2 separate regions of the Homo sapiens genome follow, and region 2 is linked to region 1. Evidence: promoter capture Hi-C in human tissues and cell types (Jung and others, 2019). All regions are on one chromosome and are shown on one strand. The core of a region is centred on a gene start or on the middle of the fragment in contact, and the rest is flanking DNA. Distances in the headings are between cores, read along the strand shown.

Region 1 (6,574 bases), core at 2,459-4,958:
AGGTCAGGAGTTCGAGACCAGCCTGGCCAACATGGTGAAACCCCTTCTCTACTAAAAATACAACAAACAAACAAACAAACAAAATTGTAGAGTTGGGGTCTCACTATATTGTTCAGGCTGGTCTCCAACTCCTAGCCTCCAGCCATCTTCCTGGCTTGGCCTCCCAAAGTGCTGAGATTACAGGCATGAGCCACCGAAACTGGCCTTTTTGCACTTGTTGAGTGCAGAGTTGAAGTTCAAGGACAGATTCTGGCTCCCCATGGCGTGGGTTCAAATCCCACTGTCACTCCTAGCTCACAGAAGGGGAATTGATGTCCAGGGCCACCCAGCAGGTCGTGCTGCAGTCACAGCAGCTCACAACTTCTCACCCCAACCCCTGCTGCATCTCCCAGGGAACCAAGGGGCAGGGGACAGCGCCCCGACACTGCCACCACTCTCCCATTCCTGCACATTCTGCTCACATTGTCTGCCGCGGCCTTGGGCCCTTCCTAACTCACATCCTGGGGTCCTGCTGCCCGCTTCTGTCATTGGAATCACAGTCAAGGAAGGTGTGACCTGATTCTCCCCACTCTGCTGCTTTTCCTCTCCAGGCTCACAATTCCCTCCGCTAGGGCAGGAGATGGTCCTGCACACTCTGCAGGGGCCTTCACTCCAGGCCTCCTTAGGAATTCCAAAGTGCTTTCCAAATCCACCCCCCTCCCCCCACTCGGCAGCCACCCCACTCCCGCCACTTGGATATGACCCATTTTTCAGAATCTAGAAATCTCATCAGACTCCTCACCTGCTCCAAACTCTCCTACAGTTCCCCAGCACCCTCAGAACAAAATCCACACCCCTTCCGGAGGCCCAGAAGATACCCCGTGATTGTCTGTCTCTGCTCAACCTGTATCCAGGCTGGAATTCACTGGTGTGATCACTGCTCACTGCAGCCTTGACCTCCCGGGCTCTGGCGATCCTCCCACCTCAGCCTCCCAAAGTGCTGGGATTATAAGTGTGAGCCACAGTGCCCAGCTGAAATCAGTATTTATCTGCTGGTGAGGTCAGGGCCATCACCACCCTGGGGTGGGTCCACCTGGATCATGCTGTGTCCCCAGCACCTGCCGGAGGGCCCTGCACACAGTATGCACTCAATGAACCGGCCTCAGCCCAGGCCTCTGGCCGCAGCCTGGACCCCACGGTGGGAAGAAGAGAAGCTATGCCTTCCCAGAACTTCCCTGGAGAGAAGGGGTCCATTTACATGTATTTGCACAATTTGCATATGTTTACATTGGTCGGCAGGGCTTTGCAAGTAGGGGATCCCGCTCGGATCTCCCATTGATTGATTGATTGATTGATTGAGACAGTCTCGCTCTGTCGCCAGGCTGGAGTGCAGTGGCACGATCTCGGCTCACTGCAACCTCCGCCTCCCGGGTTCAAGCGATTCTCCTGCCTCAGTCTCCCGAGTAGCTGGGACTACAGGCGCGTGCCATCACGCCCGGCTAATTTTTGTATTTTTAGTAGAGACGGGGTTTCACCACGTTGGCCTGGATGGTCTCGATTTCCTGACCTCGTGATCCGCCCGCGTCGGCCCCCCAAAGTGCTAGGATTACAGGCGTGAGCCACCGCGCCCAGCCTTGATTTTTATTTATTTATTTGTTTATTTATTTATTTTTTGAGACGGAATCTCTCTCTGTCGCCCAGGCTGGAGTGAAGTGGCGCGATCTCGGCTCACTGCAACCTCCACCTCCCGGGCTCAAGCGATTCTCCCGCCTCAGCCTCCCAAGTAGCTGGGATTACAGGCGGCCGCCACCACGCCCGGCTAATTCTTGTATTTTTAGTAGAGACGGGGTTTCACCATGTTGGCCAGACTGGTCTTGAACGGATCTCAAGAGACCCGTCCGCCTCGGCCCCCCAAAGTGCTGGGATTACAGGAGTGAGACACCGCACCCGGCCGGATCTCCCCTTTTCCAACGGGGTTTCCAGGAGGATGCCTGACCAGGGTGGAAGGAGAAAGAACTAGGTGCCTAACCCACTCTCCTGGCGAGGGCAGGAGGTACGCTCCAGCCGGCAACAGGTGCCCGCGTAGCCGCCGCAGTGTCACAGCCCCGGGGGAGGGACAGGTCCACCCTGCACAGCAGAGAGGGAGCAAGAGGACTGTCCGGGGGTTACGTGGGGACGCGTTGAGAAACGCTGGACCCAGCTGGAGCGGCCAGGGCAGAGGGTAGGCCAGAGGAGGCCACCAGGGAGCAGCAGAGGCTGGCGAGAAGCGCTCAAAAGCCCTTTTTTTTTTTTTTTTTTTTTTTTTGGAGACGGGGTCTTGCTGTGCTGCCCAGGCTGGAGTGCTGTGCAGTTCTCGACCACAGCTCATTGCAGCCTCGAACTTCCACGCTCAAGCGATCCTCCCACTTCAGCCTCCTGAGTAGCTGGGATTACAGGCATGTGCCACCACGCCTCGCTAATATTTGTATTTTTCATACAGACAAGATCTCACTATGTTGCTCAGGGTAGTCTCGAATTCTGGGACTCAAATGATCCTCCCACTTCAGCCTCCCAAAGTGCTGGGATTACAGGCATAAGCCATCATGCCCGGCCTCTGACGCTGTTTCTTTCAACCCCCAGGATTTCAGATTCCACCAGCTTATGGAGAAGGGAACCAAGTTTGAGATGCGTGATTGCCCAGAAAGTTGGAGGCTGAGCTGAGACTTGAACCCAGAGACCAGAACCTCCAGAGGTCAAAGTCCTCCTGGGTCCCCCAGAGAAGGGCCCTGAGATGACAGCTCGTTGGTCCTCATGGAAGCGTGACCCCCCCAGTAGACTTTCTCCCACACCCAACCTTGGTTTCCTCATCTATATGATAGGGACAAGCCAGACTCTACCTCCCTGGTGGTCATGGTCTCCGCTTATTCGGGTTCATAACCTTAAAGGCCCCTCGCACCACCTCAGTGAGCCATTTATGCCTGGCACAGGGCCAACTCTCAGTGCATATCTGCAAAGGAACCAATGAATGAATGAATGAAGTGACAAATGAATAAAGGAATAAATGAATGAGGCACTTATCATGTACCAGGCTTTCGTTACCACGTCCCATTTATTCCTCTGAGGCAGGGTCTATTTTATCCTTGTTACAGATGGGGAAACTAAGGCCCAGGGAGGAGCAAAGTCTTCCCCAAGTATGTACCCACTCAGAACTTGAGCTCTGAATGTCTCCCACCCAGCTTAGCCCAAGAGCGGGGTTCAGTGATGCCCACCCCCTAAGGCTCTAGAGAAAGGGGGTAGGCCCACATGCCAGTTTGGGGGTGGTAAAGCCAGGTAAGTTTTCTTTATGGGTCCCCTGAAACCCTGAAAGTGAACCCCAGTCCTGCATGAAAGTGAGCTCCCCATAGCTCAAGGTATTCAAGCACAATACGGCTTTGAGTGCTGAAGCAGGCTGTGCAGGCTTGGATAGTGACATGCCCTCTCTGAGCCTCAATTTCCCCACCTGTCAACAGCAGACAGTGACAGCTGTGATCAGGGGATCACAGTGCATGGGGATGGGTGGGTGCATGGGGATGGAGGGGCATTTGGGAGCCCTCCCCGATACCACCCCCTGCAGCCACCCAGATAGCCTGTCCTGGCCTGTCTGTCCCAGTCCAGGGCTGAAAGGGTGCGGGTCCTGCCCGCCCCTAGGTCTGGAGGCGGAGTCGCGGTGACCCGGGAGCCCAATAAATCTGCAACCCACAATCACGAGCTGCTCCCGTAAGCCCCAAGGCGACCTCCAGCTGTCAGCGCTGAGCACAGCGCCCAGGGAGAGGGACAGACAGCCGGCTGCATGGGACAGCGGAACCCAGAGTGAGAGGGGAGGTGGCAGGACAGACAGACAGCAGGGGCGGACGCAGAGACAGACAGCGGGGACAGGGAGGCCGACACGGACATCGACAGCCCATAGATTCCTAACCCAGGGAGCCCCGGCCCCTCTCGCCGCTTCCCACCCCAGACGGAGCGGGGACAGGCTGCCGAGCATCCTCCCACCCGCCCTCCCCGTCCTGCCTCCTCGGCCCCTGCCAGCTTCCCCCGCTTGAGCACGCAGGGCGTCCGAGGACGCGCTGGGCCTCCGCACCCGCCCTCATGGAGGCCGTGGAGACCGGGGAACGGCCCACCTTCGGAGCCTGGGACTACGGGGTCTTTGCCCTCATGCTCCTGGTGTCCACTGGCATCGGGCTGTGGGTCGGGCTGGCTCGGGGCGGGCAGCGCAGCGCTGAGGACTTCTTCACCGGGGGCCGGCGCCTGGCGGCCCTGCCCGTGGGCCTGTCGCTGTCTGCCAGCTTCATGTCGGCCGTGCAGGTGCTGGGCGTGCCGTCGGAGGCCTATCGCTATGGCCTCAAGTTCCTCTGGATGTGCCTGGGCCAGCTTCTGAACTCGGTCCTCACCGCCCTGCTCTTCATGCCCGTCTTCTACCGCCTGGGCCTCACCAGCACCTACGAGGTACCGGACAGAGGCCCGGGGGTAGGACCTGCCCCACTGGCAGTGCTGGGACCCCGTGTGGGGGAGGCGCTGGGGCTTTGGGCCGCTGTACAGGAGGACGCGGATGGCACCTCGGTGCTTTAACGGAAGGGGCCCCTAGGCAGACACGTGGGGAGGGTTCTAGGAAGAGGCCCCAGGCGCCCGGCGAGGGGCAGGAAGGAGGAAGAGAGAGCCTGGCGTCCTGCTCCTTCGGTGGAAGCGCGCGCGGGGCGGGGCCCGGCTCGACCAGGTGTGTCCTCACGGGTGGACACACACCTGCCCCCCACCTGCCCGGGCGTGCAGACCCACGTGTGCGCGCTAGAGGGGACTGCTGACGGCTCCGGGGTTCGAAACCTGGCTTCACTGCTTTCTTGTATCTTGGGCAAGGGGCGTGCCTCTCTGTTTGGGTTTCCCAGCTGTCCAATGGGCGAATTACAGGACCTCCCTCCAGGGGAGAGGGTAAAGCGATTAAAATCGTGACCGGGGCCCGGTGCGGTGGCTCACGCCTGTAATCCCAGCACTTTGGGAGGCCAAAGCATGCAGATCACCTGAGGTCAGGAGTTCAAGACCAGCCTGGCCAACATGGCGAAACCCCGTCTCTACTAAAAATACAAAAATTAGCCGGATGTGGTGGTGGGCACCTGTAATCCCAGCTACTTGGGAGGCTAAGACAGGAGAATTGCTTGAACCCGGGAGGTTGCAGTGAGCCGATATCGCGTCACTGCACTCCAGCCTGGGCGACAGAGCGAGACTCTTGTCTCAAAGGAAAAAAAAATATTGTGGCAGGGCGCAGTGGCTCACGCCTGTAATCCCAGCACTTTGGGAGGCCGAGGTGGGTGGATCACGAGGTCAGGAGTTCAAGACCAGCCTGGCTAACATGGTGAAACCCCGTCTTTACTAAAAATACAAAAATTAGCCGGGCATGGTCGCGCGCGCCTGTAATCCCAGCTACTCAGGAGGCTGAGGCAGAAGAATTGCTTGAACCTGGGAGGCGGAGGTTGCAGTGAGCCGAGATCGTGCCAGTGCACCCTAGCCTGGGCGACAGAGCGAGACTCCGTCCCCCCTCCCCCCCAAAAAAATCGTGACAGGTATATCCTAGGCGGCCAACACCATTGGCCCGGGGCACTGTCTACACTGTGCGCTTGCGGGCCACGTCGGTGTCTGCTGAGCGGTGGCTGCTCCAGGAGCCCGCGCCCGTCAGGCGCAAGTGGGAGGGCGCGTGCACACGCATGGACCAGTCCTCCAGGTCCACGGGGTACGCACAGGCACGGGATGGCACCTGTGCACGGGTGTGTGCGTGCGGCGGGGCCCCCACGTGCAAGAATCTGGCGGGCGCGGTTGGCTTCCGGAGGGAGGGGCCCACCTAGAGAGCAGACCAGGGACCCGAGAGGCCTCGGCTCCTGGGTAAGGACTGTCCAGGTGACCTCGAGTCCCTCCTTGCAGTACCTGGAGATGCGCTTCAGCCGCGCAGTGCGGCTCTGCGGGACTTTGCAGTACATTGTAGCCACGGTGAGTGGCCTCGGCCCCGCCCTCCGCTCAGGGCCCCGAGAGCGTCAGCCTTCACTAGCCCGGCCCCCACCATTCAAGACCCCGCCCAGACCCCGCCCCCCATGCTCCCGTTCTGACCCCGCCCCCATCAGTCCCCTCCCACACCACAGCCGGCCTGACCCCGCCTGCACTCTGGAAGACCCGGCCTATCTGCCCCGCCCATATTCTGGGACCACCCTTCTGCCTCCTCTCCCCATCCCCAACTCGCCCAGACGCCCTCCCTGCTCACCCGCCCCACACTCTGTCTACAGATGCTGTACACCGGCATCGTAATCTACGCACCGGCCCTCATCCTGAACCAAGGTGTGACTCTGGGAGATTAGGGAAGCATGTCTGGGAAGAGAAAGGGAGGGAGAGGAGAACCCAAGACTAAGTTTGCGCCCCGCCCAGGGGCCTAACAGGGGGACCTCTTTTTGCATAGTGACCGGGCTGGACATCTGGGCGTCGCTCCTGTCCACCGGAATTATCTGCACCTTCTACACGGCTGTGGTGAGTGGCCCTGGGAACTCACTCCATACGGGGGATCGGGCCCACTGTGTCTCTTGTGGGGAGACTCTGGGCTTGCCCC
Region 2 (6,574 bases), core at 1,257-3,756, 170 kb before region 1:
CTCGAACTCCTGGCCTCAAGGTCTCGAACGCCTTGGCCTCCCAAAGTGCTGAGATTACAGGCGTGAGCCACCGTGCCAGGCCTAAAGACACCCTTAATTCCTCCTTTCCACTCCTCAGAACTTTCATTTCTTGTTTTCTTTAGTAAAATGCGCAGCACCATGTTAACAGGCATTCCTGCCTTGTTCCAATTCTGAAAGAGAATGTTTCAACGTTCATCATTGATCATTTGGATCCAATTAATTTTTAAGCCCTGGTGCCTCATTTCATTCCCACCAACAGCATAGCTCGGCTGATTCGAAAGGTATTGATTTGAGCTGTCTCCTCCTCCCTCCAATTAATTATGCCATGCTGCTTCTGTCTTCTCTTGCCCTCTCTTCTCTGTGGCCCCCTCTTTTTTTTTTTAGACACAGTTTTCCTCTTGTCATCCAGGCTGGAGTGCAGTGGCATCATCTCAGCCTGCAACCTCCGCCTCCCAGGTTCAAGCGATTTTCCTGCCTTAGCCTCCCAAGTAGCTGGGATTACAGGCATGAGCCACCACACCTGGCTAATTTTGTATTTTTAGTAGAGACGGGGTTTCACCATCTTGGCCAGGCTGGTCTCGAACTCCTGACCTTACGTGATCCACCTGCCTTGGCCTCCCAAAGTGCTGAGATTACAGGCGTGAGCCTCCACACCCGGCCGGCCCCCTCTTTTATTTATTTATTTATTTACTTATTTTTGAGACAGTCTTTGTCACCCAGACTGAAGTGCAGTGACAAGATCTCGGCTCACTGCAACCTCCATGTGGCCCCCTCTTAACTTCATTCCCCTCCAGGTGCATCTGCATTTGGAGCCTTTGCAAACCCTGTGTGACTCTCTGTGTCTTTCCATCTCTCTTCTCTTGGCTTCCAATTTCATGCTTTCTCTCCACCACCCTAGGAAACCCACAAAGAAAAATAATGGAAAGAGAAGTGATGGGAGATAATGTACAGGCTGGTGAAAAGTACAACCCCCCCACCTGCAGAGTGAGGCTACCACTGCCAGCAAATGCAGACACATCATTCCTGCCTTGCTGAGCTCCAGGGCTTCCCCAGGGACCCTGCTCTTATCAAAACCTGCCCACCCCCGGTGCCAAAAGCAGCGATGAAAACATCTGGGCTTTAGATGAGAAGAGTTTCACGGCACAGCATCTGTCCAGCTCAGCTTTTGAATGGAGAATGAATGGTAAGAGCTTTTTTTCTTCTTTTTGTGAGATGGTGTCTCACTCTGTCGCCCAGGCTGGAGTGCAGCGGCACAATCACGGCTCACTGCAGCCTCGACCTCCCCAGGCTCAGGTGATCCTCCCACCTTAGCCTCCTGAGTAGCCAGGACTGCAGGTACACACCACCATGCCCAGCTAAGTTTTTTTTTTTTTTTTTGAAATGGAGTCTCTGTCGCCCGGGCTGGAATGCAATGGCGCAATCTCGGCTCATTGCAACCTCCACCTCTCTGGTTCAAGCAATTCCCCTGCCTCAGCCTCCCGAGTAGCTGGGATTACAGGCGCACGCCACCACACCCAGCTAATTTTTTTTGCATTTTTAGTAGAGAAGGGGTTTCACCATGTTGGCCAGGCTGGTCTCAAAGTCCTGACCTCAGGCAATGTGCCCCCTTCGGCCTCCCAAAGTGCTGGGATTACAGGCATGAGCCACCGCGCCCGGCCCCAGCTAATTTTTTGTACTTTTGTAGAGATGAGGTTTCATCGGGTTTCCCAGTCTGCTCTTGAACTCCTGGGCTCCAGCAATCCTCCCACCTTGGCCTCCCAAAGTGCTGGGATTACAGGCATAAGGTACCCGCACCCGGCTGGGCAGAGCTTTTTCTAGCAGCCCCAATCCAAGGCAAACTTGCTTGGTCTTCAGATAAATTCCCAGTCCTTACGGGGTGCATTTGATGTTCCTGGCACTGTGCAAAGCTCCATGGAGTAGACGGATACCGATGAGACGTCAATTTGTTCAGCCAGCGTTTGCTGGTGCCATCTGGATGCTGGGAACTAAGCTTGTCACCAGGTTCTGCCAGGCGACATTGTCCCTAGCATGGGAAGTGGGAATGAACAAGCAGGCAGAGGAAGTCAAGGACGATTATGAGGCGATGGGAAGGGTCTGGTGACAGAGAGGGATGGAAGGGGTGGGGGAATCTGCTTCCCGGAGGAGGCAACACGAGAGCCAAGATGTAAAAGAGGTGGAGCCAGGCAGGGAGAGAGATGAGGGACAGGCATTCACAGGACAGGTGCAAAGGCCCTGAGGTGAGGCTGTGCCTGGTGTGTTGGAGAAGCCGAGAAGGCTTGTGTGAATGAGTGAGGGGGAGAGAGGAAAAGAGAGAAAGGGGACCGGACATGGTGACTCACCCCTGTAATCCCAGCACTTTGGGAGGCCAAGGCGGGCAGATAACCTGAGGTCAGGAGTTCGAGAGCAGCCTGCCCAACATGGTGAAACCCCGTCTCCACTAAAAAATTACAAAAATTAGACAGGGGTGGTGGTGCACGCCTGTAGTCCCAGGTACTCCAGAAGCTGAGGCAGGAGAATCACTTGAGCCTGGGAGGCAGAAGTTGCAGTGAACAGAGATTGTGCCACTGCACTCCAGCCTGGGCAAAACAGCGAGACTCTGTTTCAAAAAAAAAAAAAAGAAGAAGAAGAAGAAGAAGAAGAATAGAGAGAAAGGGAACTGCGGGGGAAGGTCATTCAGGGCCTCAGGGCAGGGGATGGAGAAGGCTCTGGAATTTACTCTGAGATGGACAGACAGAGAGATGGAGAGAGAGTGACTGAGAAGGAAGAAGAGATGGGGGTTCAGCTCTGCAAGACAGGGCTGAGACTCCAGCCCAAGCCTAAGTGGCCACTGAGGTCTTGTTCTAACCCGTGTCTCCCCACCCCCAGACCTCTCTCTGATGCCCCCAACTGCACTGGCAGGGAGTGACCACCTTGAACGGAAAACGGAATCAGAACACTGTGGGCACTCCATAAACATGAGTGAGTCAGTACGTGGTGGAGGGAGTGAGGGAGGGATGGAGTCGGGGGCGGGGAGGGGGGCAGGTCAGCAGGGATACAGACTATGCCAGGCCTCCTGATCACAGGAAAGAGTGTGGGCTATACTATGAGGGTAATAGGGAGCCACGGGAGGGCTTTGAGCAGAGGAAGGGCGTGATCTGCTTTATGATTTTTTTTTTTTTGAGATGGAGTCTCGCTCTGTCGCCCAGGCTGGAGTGCAGTGGCGCGATCTCGGCTCACTGCAAGCTCTGCCTCCCGGGTTCACGCCATTCTCCTGCCTTAGCCTCCCAAGTAGCTGGGACTATAGGTGCCCACCACCACGCCCAGCTAAATTTTTTTGTATTTTTAGTAGAGACGGGGTTTCATATGTTAGCTAGGATGGTCTCGATCTCCTGACCTCGTGATCTGCCCATCTTGGCCTCTCAAAGTGCTGGGATTACAGGCGTGAGCCACCGCTCCCGGCCTGCTTTATGATTTTAAGAATCCATCTGGGGCTCCCTAGGGGAGCAAGGATGGCTGGGGGCAGGAGTGTAGGTGGCAGGGAGCCAGGACAGCATCCACACAAGATACAGCAGGCCCCTTAGGAGCTCAGGGAGGCTCAGTTTCATTCTGGAGCCGGAGACTGCAGGACCTGCTGATGCACTGAACATGCAGGGTAAGGAAAGAGAAGGGACAAGAATGAGTCCAGGTCAGGTGCAGTGGCTTATGTCTGTAATCCCAGCACTTTGGGAGGCCGAGGCGGGAGGATTCCTTGAGGGAGACCAGGATTTTGAGATCAGCCTGGGCAACAGAGTGAGACCCCATCTCTACAAAAATTTTTAAATGAGCTGGGCATGGTGGTGTGTGCCTGTAGTCCCAGCTACTCAGGAGGCTGCAGTGGGAGGACTGCCTGAGCCAAGGAGATGGAGGCTGCAGTGAGCTATGACTGCACTACTGCACTCCAGCCTGGGTCTAGGTGACAGAGTGAGACTCTGTCTCTTTTTTAGTTTGTTTGTTTTGTTTTGTTTGTTTGAGACAGAGTCTCCCTCTGTTGCCCAGGCTGGAGTGCAGTGGCACAATCTCGGCTCACTGCAACCTCCGCCTCCTAGGTTCAAGCGATTCTTGTACCTCAGCCTCCTGAGTAGCTGGGATTACAGGCACCCGCCACCACGCCCCACTAGTTTTTTGTATTTTTAGTAGAGACAGGTTTTCACCATGTTGGCCAGGCTGGTTTTGAACTCTTGACCTCAAGTGATCTGCCTGCCTCAGCCTCCCAAGGTGCTAGGATTACAGGCATGAGCTACCACGCTCGGCTGACCCTGTCTCTTAAAAAAATAAAATAAAGAGGGCCGGGCGCGGTGGCTCACGCTTGTAATCCCAGCACTTTGGGAGGCCGAGGCAGGTGGATCACGAGGTCAGGAGATCGAGACCATCCTGGCTAACACAGTGAAACCCCGTCTCTACTAAAAATACAAACAATTAGCCAGGCATGGTGGCGGGCGCCTGTAGTCCCAGCTACTCACGAGGCTGAGGTGGGAAAATGGCATGAGCCTGGGAGGTGGAGCTTGCAGTGAGCCGAGATGGCGCCACTGCACTCCAGCCTGGGCAACAGAGCAAGACTCCATCTCAAAAAAAATAAAATAAAATAAAATAAAGAGCGTATCCAGGAATCAGGACCCAGGCTACTGTGTGATAGTGGAGGCACCAACAGGATGGAGAAGGGGCAGATCTCAGGGCGAGTAACTATTCTAAGAGCCAGGTTTTGGCCTTGTGAGTGTGAAATGCCTGCAAGGCACTCAGTGGAAATATCCAATGCCATTGGATACTGAGGCCTGGAGCTCTGGGGAGATGCAGGCTGGAGACACCAATGGGATAGTCGACAACACGCAATGAGGTGTGGCTATTTGGGGCAAGGGCATAGATACAAGGTCAAGGGACACCCTGCTCTTCCAGGACTATCAAAGCCAAGACATCACACCCAGGGGTCCACCCTTTACAACTCTGTCCATGCCCAACGCCAGTCCCTGTTATCAGGTCAGCAGGAATGCTACCTGCAGGGAACATGGAATTCAGTGTCCTTGGGCTTACCATAGGTGCTCCTCTTCTTCTCTCAAGTGCCTATTTATTTATTTATTTATTTATTTATTTATTTATTATTTGAGATGGAGTATCACTCTGTCACTAGGCTGGAGTGCAGTGGCGCAATCTTGGCTCACTGCAACCTCTGCCTCCTGGGTTCAAGCAATTCCCCTGCCTCAGCCTCCCGAGTAGCTGGGACTACCATGCCCAGCTAATTTTTTTTTTTTTTTTTTTGTATTTTAGTAGAGATGGGGTTTCACCGTGTTGGCTAGGATGGTCTCAATCTCCTGACCTCGTGATCCACCCGCCTCGGCCTCCCAAAGTGCTGGGATTACAGTCAAGTGCTCATTTATAGATGGGGAGACTGAGTTCCTGAGAGTTTGGGGCAGCAGGCAGCGGGGCGGGGGAGGGGGACAAGGCTGGGACGTGAAGTGGGTCTGGAGTAACTCTCAGAATAGGCCGTTTCTGCAATGCAGACGTCTGTGTAATCGTTCATTCATTCAATGAACGTAGTTTGGATCCACACCCTTGCCCATCTCGCGCTGATCTGAAAGGGGACGTTTCTGTTAGGTGTGGTGGCTCACGCCTGTAATCCCAGCACTTTGGGAGGCCAAGGTGGACGGATCACCTGAGGTCAGGAGCTGCAGACCAGTCTGGTCAACATGGTGAAACCCCGTCTCTACTAAAAATACAAAAAAAAATTAGCTAGGCGTGGTGGCGCCTGCCTGTAGTCAGTCCCAGCTACTTGGGAGGCTGAAGCAGGAGAATCACTTGAACCTCAAAGGCAGAGGCTGCAGTGAGCCGAGATCACGCCACTGCACTTCAGCCTGGGTGCAACAGAGTGAGACCCCATCTCAAAATAATAATAATGATGATGATAATAATCATAATGATGAAAGGGGCATTTCAACGTTCACCATTGAGCACTCGGATCCAATTAATTTTTAAGCTCTGGTGCCCCATTTTCTTCCAGCCAACAGCTCAGCTAATTCCAAAGCTATTGATTTGAGCCTTCTCATCCCTCCACTTAATTATGCCGGTGCTGTCTGTATCTTCTCTTGCCCTTTTTTCTCTGCGGCTCCTTCTTTGCCAAGGTCAAGGGTCCAGCGAGCAAGGAGGATCTCGCTCAGCACAGGGAATTGGAGGAAGGACATTCCTGGCCGAGGGCAGGGTGTGTGCAAAGGCTCTGAGATTGGACCTCTTATTGAACTTAATTGTAGCTGTCAGGCTGCCTGGGGCAGAGAAATCGATGAGGGCAAACTTGGCTTATCGCCTATAAAATGAGGATAAAAAATAATGGTTTCTGCCAGGTGCGGTGGCTCAAGTCTGTAATCCCAGCACTTTGGGAGGCCAAGGCGGGCAGATCACCTGAGGTCAGGAGTTCAAAACCAGCCTGGCCAACATGGTGAAACCCTATCTCTACTAAAAGTTTAAAAATCAGCTGGGCGTGGTGGCGGGCGCCTGTAATCCCAGCTACTCGGGAGGCTGAGGCAGGGGAATCGCTTGAACCCAGGAGCCA

What was found. Contacts are between HindIII fragments. The study calls those that stand out against the background at their distance.
Region 2: a contact is called between a fragment that was not itself captured here and the fragment with the promoter of SLC5A5 in region 1, in 2 of the 25 tissues and cell types used here (lymphoblastoid cells and spleen).

Annotation. Positions count from the first base shown.
Region 1 is chr19:17,868,237-17,874,810 of GRCh38, forward strand. SLC5A5 (solute carrier family 5 member 5) reads left to right here and starts at 3,709. Exons shown (of 15, transcript NM_000453.3): 1 at 3,709-4,440; 2 at 5,902-5,967; 3 at 6,258-6,309; 4 at 6,428-6,495. The coding sequence starts at 4,084. RefSeq lists enhancers at 524-1,177, 1,178-1,831, 5,479-6,251 and a silencer at 6,044-6,173. The HindIII fragment of the contact is 15,663 bases long and covers 1,613-6,574 here.
Region 2 is chr19:17,697,067-17,703,640 of GRCh38, forward strand. No RefSeq gene overlaps it. Among named protein-coding and RNA genes, the nearest start is that of UNC13A, 12 kb to the left of the region's middle. RefSeq lists a silencer at 4,293-4,520. The HindIII fragment of the contact is 6,509 bases long and covers 1-5,761 here.